Regions from separate parts of the Homo sapiens genome. Here region 2 is linked to region 1. The links are contacts of gene promoters, found by promoter capture Hi-C in blood cells and fetal thymus (Javierre and others, 2016). All regions are on one chromosome and are shown on one strand. Each heading gives the region's core, a stretch centred on a gene start or on the middle of the fragment in contact. The rest is flanking DNA. Distances are from core to core; before and after follow the strand shown. Region 1 holds the start of DCDC2C (doublecortin domain containing 2C). Region 2 overlaps LOC105373404 (a long non-coding RNA gene).

Region 1 (3,494 bases), core at 688-3,187:
TAAAGGCAGTTTTTGTAGAGATATATTCTTTAATTGTAAATCAGCACTGAACACTGGATCCTGGGTAGGATGTCAGTTCTAGATATTCACACCATCTGACTAGCTTGGAAAAAATAATCACAAATCACATGGCTATAAAGGAATATAATTTTGTCCATGAATTCTAATACATAACAGGATTATCATAGTAATAAATTTCAATCTGAAATATGCTAATCCAGATTCTACCTCTTAGCAACTGTGATGCCTGTGACTTACGACTTTTCTTCAGAAACAACTGAATGGTAAATTCACATCTTTGCAAATGCCACTAAGAATTTGGAACCATACACCAGCCCTCATACTAAATCCTACTACTTTTTCAAAAAACAACAAACAAAACTCAAGCTGCTGATTTAATTCAGAGCATTTTTGAACGGAGAGCATTTGAAAGAAGAAAATGGAAATTCTCTCTGGGGAATCTCACTTTTATCTCAGCCCTGAAGAATGTCCCCACACAAAGCTATACAAAAGGAGTAGTTCACAGTCAAAAAATAAGTAAACCTACAAGGAAACAGAGAATCAGGAGAGAAAAGCAGCTGAGATCACAGAAAGCAGACACAGGCTGCAATAATGGGATTACAGACACAAACCGTGGGAGGGCAATAGTTTAATTAAAGGCAAGCTTGAAAATGCACGCAGGACCAAGTGATGGACACAGAGTGAGAGGGGTCACCCTGAGCGATTTCAAATGGGAACTGCCCAACCCGCCCCATTCCCAGGCCCTGCCCCCCACGCCCCTCCCCCCCACGCCCCTCCCCCCTCCCCCTCCCCTACACTCCTCCCCACGCCCCCCACGCCCCTCTCCACACCCCTCCCCCATGCCCCTCTCCACACCCCTCCCCCACGCCCCTCTCCACACCCCTCCCCCACGCCCCCCACGCCCCTCTCCACACCCCTCCCCCATGCCCTCCTCCACACCCGTTTCTGCCCCATGCCCCTCCCCCACGCCCCTCCCCCCTCCCCCTCCCCTACACTCCTCCCCACGCCCCCCACGCCCCTCTCCACACCCCTCCCCCATGCCCCTCTCCACACCCCTCCCCCACGCCCCTCTCCACACCCCTCCCCCACGCCCCCCACGCCCCTCTCCACACCCCTCCCCCACGCCCTCCTCCACACCCCTGTTTCTGCCCCACGCCCCTCCCCCACGCCCTCCTGGCCGTCTCTGGGGCGGTCCTGAATCGCTGCCGGCCAGGGCCCGCCCTGCCCCATAGGAAGGGACCCTGGGGGCGGGGCTGCCTCGGCTTCGCCCCCAGGAAACCACGTGGCCTGGGGCGGCCCGACGCCGGCTGCGCTGGATCCACGCCGAAAGATGGGCGCCCGAGCCGGGAGGGAAGCCTGGGGAGGACACCTGGGGGGCACGGCCCTGACCACGCTCAGACCCAAGAGGGCGGGGAGGGGCGCAGGGCGCGTGGGGGGCGCGGGCGCACTTACTCGAGCTCCTTGAAGCGCTCGCGGCCCGCCGCCACGTACTTGCCGCCCGCCTGCAGCGCGTCCAGCCCCAGCACCCGGTGCCCACGCGTGGGCGTGAAGAGGCGGCGCACGCCGAACGGGACGTCCACCTGCTCCGTGAGCTGCTCCAGCAGCGCCTCGAAGGTGGCCGCGCGGCGCCGCGACAGCACGAACTTCTTGCCCACGTAGAACGGGTCCCCGTTGCGGTACACCACGATGGTCTTGGCGGGCGTGGTGTCCACCGGCGCGGAGGGCCCGCGGGTTCCCATAGCCGCGCCCCGCTCCTCGCTCGCCGGGGCCGAGAGGCTGCGGCAGCGCGGGCAGCGACGCCTGCAGAGCCGCGCCCAGGCCCGGGCACCGCCGACGGGAGGTCCGCTCCAGCCGCTGGCGCAGGACGGGGACGGGACGGGGACGGGACGGGGGCTGGACGGGGACGGGACGGGGCTGCCAGGCGGGCGGAGGCTGCGTGTTGACGCGACCCTGGGCGATTGTGACCGCCTGGCCGCCAGGGCGAGGGGCTCGGGGCCGGGGCAGGAGACGGGGCGACGGGGAACCCGGGCAGGTGAGCAGGCGGCACGGGGCAGGGACAGGTGATTGGGTAATGGGGAGCCCAAGCAGGTGAGGCGCGGCACAGGGCGGAGACAGGTGAGGGGGCAACGGGGAGCCCGGGCAGGTGAGGGGCGTGGCGGCAGAGCTCAGGAAAAGAGGAGGAGGAGGCGGCTAGCATGATTGTGCTGAGCGCCCCGGGACGCCCACCGTGCCTCCTCCCCCTACACTCGCCGCCTTCCTCTGTAGAAGCGGTAGAGAGGAGGGTTAGGGAGGGACCAGGACCATCTTGACAATCAACATTGGATGGGTGCTGGGATCTGCTTCACATTTTTTGAGCCTCTGTTTCTTTGATCTTAGGTTGAATTTGACCGGTTCAGCCCCAGTGTCTTCCAGGACTCCTGGCCCAGAGTGGGGAATTTGAGCTTTTCCACCAGAGGAGGAGGTGTGCAGAGCCACTGGGAGGCCGTGAGGAACCGCGCTATAGCCGCTGGTGTGCGGTGTCAGGCGCGTGCCATTCAGAACGCATCCTCATTGGGGAATGATTCAAAGGGAGAGGGGGTCTTTGGAAGAATCGTTCCTACTCTGGGTAAAGATAGGCCAGTCCCCTTGAGTGATTCTAGACAGTCAGTAGGCTACATGTTACGGCTGGAAGTCCACACCGAAGGTACAGATATTGATATTATGAGTATTAATATCTTATAATGTTCAAAAAAAGTAGTTCCGTAGAGACCACCAGTCACAGCCATAGCCAGTATGTAAGCTACTAAATGCCTCATAGCAACATTAAATACAGAGATCAATTTGTGAGACGACCACTTTATTAAATCACCAGGTGTTCAAAACATTTGAAAAGAAGACTATGACTGGGAAATTACTGCTGTGTGTCCGACACCGGGGCTTTGTGTGTGTTAAGGGTTTGCTTTGAAGCTCACCGAGAACTTCAACATGGGCTTCTCCCGGGGCCTCAGGAGGCAGATGGAGCTGGGGAAGCCCCGGAGCCGAAGGCGGCTCACTCCCCCGTCGGGGACGATGGTGAGCCTGGCGTGAGTGATGACATCTTGGAGCTCTAGGGTCAGGCTATCGAACAGATGACTTTGGTTGGGAGACAACTGAAAAGCAAGCAGATGCAGAGGTCCTAGTCTGTTAACAGGACATGTGTGGCCGAATGAGCCCACGGCCCGGGCAAACCTTTGGCTTAGACTTAACCGAAGGGGCTTTAAAATAAGTTATTAATTGATGATAATTGGGCTTTCCATGAAAATCTGCTAGTAGGGATAGGATGCCCAAATAATACATGAATAAGCAGGCCCCAATAAACAATTGATGGGCAACCTAAATGCCCATCAGTTGTTTCTAATAGTTGATTATACATAAGCAAATTGATAAGAAAATGAAGGAAGAGACCATCTTGGTCTCTCCCGGAGATTATTTCCTATCTTTACATGGGAGCAGCT
Region 2 (3,494 bases), core at 315-2,814, 3.1 Mb before region 1:
TGGGAGTCATCTGTGCTGGTTTGGGATGCAAGAGAGAGGAGAGAGTAGGGGAGCAGGCACCTTTTCTTTTCCTTCTTATTTTCTACTTTGCTTCTCTCTCAGTGTCGTGATTTCATATCTCCTGCAAACATAACCCATCCTCCTAGGTCTTTGGCTTTAGATTATGAAGGGAGTGAGGGGTGTTTATGTGTGATGGGAAACTGAGAGAGCAATGGGACTTGATAATTTATTCCAAGTTCAAGTTGCAATGGAAGGAGGCACTGGGACAAGGCTCCCGGGCTTCTGCTGTGTACGTATTTTTCCGAAAAATAAGTCTTGGCATGGTCAGGGTGTCAGGGCCCCTCAACATGTGGCCTTGTGCTCCTAGGGAGGGGCTGGCCCTCCCCTGGCTGGGCTGCTGCCATCTGGACCAGTCATGTTCACACATGGGCTTTGGAGGTCTAGTCCTCAGCCGGTGTGTATTAGGTCACTTTTGCACTGCTATATAGAAATACCTGAGGCTGGGTAATTTATAAAGAAAAGAGATTTAATTGGCTCATGATTCTATAGGCTGTATATAGAAAACATAGCACTGGCATTGCTTCTGGGGAGGCCTCAAGAAGCTTAAAATCATGAAGGGAGTTGAATGGGGAGCAGGTGCATCACAGGGCGATAGCAGGAGCAAGAGAGCACGGGGGAGGTGCCACACACTCGCAAGAACTCACTGACTTATTGTGAGGACAGGACCAAGGGGATACTGCTAAACTATTTACAATAAATCTATCTCCATGGTCCAATCACCTCCCACCAGGCCCCACCTCCAATACTGGGGATTAAAATTCAACATGAGATTTGGCGGGAACATGTATTCAAACTATATCACCATGTGAGCTCAGAAGGCCCCTGTGTGGAGCCAGCTGCAGCAGATGCAAACTCCCTGTCCCTGGCCCTTTCCTTGGGCCTTCCCTTCCCACTTGGCCCATATCCTGCCTCCCTGCTTCCTCCTCACTGTGCTTTCACACAGGACTGTGGGGAGGGCTATGCGTCAGGGCTGCGTATACACTGCAGATGTTCATCCCAAACAGAACCCTAGGAACAGTCATGAACAGATGCTGTCTATCTGGGTATTGGCCAAGTATAATGGCTAAGTTTGTGTATCAACTTGACGGGGCTAAGAGATGCCCAGAGAGCTGGTAAAACTGTATTTCTGGGTGTGTCTGTGAGGGTGTTTCCAGAAGAGATTCACCTTCAGATTGGTGAACTGTGTAAAGAAGACCCAGCCTCACCAAAGCGGATGGGCATCAGGCAATCCATTGAGGGCCTGGCTAGAGCAAAAAGGAAGAGGTAGGGTGAGTTCCCTCTCTCTGCTTAAGTTGAGTCATCCATCCTCTGTCGTCCTTATGCATTGGAGCTCCTGGTTCATGGGCCTTCGAACTCAGAGTCTTACACCAGTGTCCCCCCAATTCTCAGGCCTTCAGACTCGACTGAGAGTTACACCATTGCCCCATCCCCCAACCATCTACCCATTTATCAGTACTCAGGCCTTTGAACTCAGACTGAATTACCTCATGATCTCATGAGTCCATTCTAATAATCAATCAGTCTGTCTACATTTATCTATCCATCCATCTATATCTATCTATCTATCTATCTATCTATCTATCTATCTATCTATCTATCTCTATATAGCTATCATCTGTATTAGTCTGTTCTCATGCTGCTTATAAAGACATACCTGAGACTGGGTAATTTATAAAGGAAAGAGGCTTAATTGACTCACACTTTAATTAGCTGGGGAGGTCTCACAATCATGGTGGAAGGCAAAGAGGAGAAAAATCTCATCTTACGTGGTGGCAGGAAAGAGGGCATGTGCAGGGGAGCTCCCTTTTATAAAACCATCAGATCTCGTGGGACTTATTCACTATCATGAGAACAGCCTGGGAAAAACCCACCCCCATGATTCAGTTACCTTCCACTGGGTCTCTCCCACAACCCATGAGAAATATTACAATTCAAGGTGAGATTTGAGCGGGGAAACAGAGCCAAACCATATCATCCTCTATCTTTCTTATTGCTTCTGTTTCTCTGGAGAACCCTGACTGACATGCAAAGTTCAAGCTGTATGGATTAAGTCCTCTTAATTGCCTTCATCATGTTTGCCCAGATTGCCTCAAGCAATGATTTCATAATCTTTGTTGGTAAATGAGGTAATCCTTGGCGGGAAGTTTTAGCCTTACTGCCTGAATTTTCTTCTCAAATGCTGTATTGTCCCTTTTCTGCTGTTTGCCACCATTTTAGCTAACTCTTCTTGACATTTTAGAGTTTATACTGTGAGCTTTTACAGGGAGGAGAGGTTCCTCCCTTCTCTTTATCTCTCCTGGGGTCATATTTGTAACTTAGCCTGTGAGAAAACCACCTCTTCTTCCTATAGCACTCTAAATTTTTCAAGTGTGTTAACATCTTCCCTTGGGAAGATGCATGAGGCAGTGGAGCACAACATTTTAAGGAGGTATAAAAGGTGGTCCACAGATCCGTGGCCAAGCTTATCTGTTTCCCTGCTTTTTCCTGTGTGACTTTACATAGGTGATTTAATTTCACTTTCCTTGTATGTCAAATTAAAACAAAAGCAATTTTACCACCTTGCATTGCAGTGCAGAGCAAGTGAGAGGCTACATGGAAACCATGCACGCAGGTTGACACACACTGAGCCAGCACTGCACACCGTGGTCCCTTCCCTTCTCCTGCATCTTCACTGGTGTGCCCTCATGCTTCCTCTTTCTCACTCTCTTTTTCTCTCTGGTTTTTATCAGTTTGTTTCTGTATAGCTGAGGAATAATGATAAAGCACTAATCTACCATTTCACTCAAGTGTAAAGCCAGAAAATCTGTTCTTACACTGATATACCAGTTCCTTATATTGATATGCTGATTTATTACATTTGTTAAATATTTTATAATTTGCAAATGCACTCATTTCTTTGCTTATTCATTGAACTCTTCATTCAACAGAGGGTTTATGTTTGCACTGTGCCTGGCATCTGCTTCCTTACGGTACCTGGCAACACCTTCTGAAGTGCCAGAGTGAGGACGTTCCCTTTGCAAGTGTGGATGCCCAGATGAGGGATGCCTCAAGGTCACGCAGGACGTGAGGTCGGCTCTTCTGACTCTTGGTGCGGTGCTCTTTCATCTCCTACAGGCTTAGTGAATCTCAGTTAGCGTCAGAGAGCACATTGGTCAGGGAACCAGGGGAAGCTAAGTGCCCTATAAAAAGCCTGTGTGCCTCCCAAGGAATCCTCTTTTCATTGGAATGATTTACAGTGGGATTTTCATTCTAAAAACCTGCCACCTCCTGAATGATATTTGTAAAATGTTTAACCCCATGGGGATTCCTTCTGGTATGCAGGAGAAGGTACCATAAATTGTTCTGTTTTCTTTTTCAAATGGGAAGACATTAATTATGTTCTAAGAGGTATGCCAAACTAAGTGCACAGGAAAATGCATTTATAGTGAACATTT

What was found. Contacts are between HindIII fragments. The CHiCAGO score rates a contact against its expected background, and 5 or more counts as called.
Region 2: a contact is called between a fragment that was not itself captured here and the fragment with the promoter of DCDC2C in region 1, in 1 of 17 cell types (M2 macrophages). The highest score is 5.8, in M2 macrophages.

Annotation. Positions count from the first base shown.
Region 1 is chr2:3,702,018-3,705,511 of GRCh38, reverse strand. It overlaps DCDC2C (doublecortin domain containing 2C), which reads right to left and starts at 1,937. Exons shown (of 11, transcript NM_001287444.2): 1 at 1,474-1,937. The coding sequence starts at 1,760. It overlaps ALLC (allantoicase), which reads right to left. Exons shown (of 12, transcript NM_018436.4): 12 at 2,841-3,149. The coding sequence ends at 2,949. LOC105373393 (a long non-coding RNA gene) reads left to right here and starts at 2,012. Exons shown (of 3, transcript XR_922732.1): 1 at 2,012-2,053; 2 at 2,398-2,704; 3 at 2,873-2,952. The HindIII fragment of the contact is 3,644 bases long and covers 667-3,494 here.
Region 2 is chr2:6,783,171-6,786,664 of GRCh38, reverse strand. The region is part of intron 3 of LOC105373404 (a long non-coding RNA gene); the gene reads left to right. Among named protein-coding and RNA genes, the nearest start is that of LINC00487, 15 kb to the right of the region's middle. The HindIII fragment of the contact is 1,919 bases long and covers 605-2,523 here.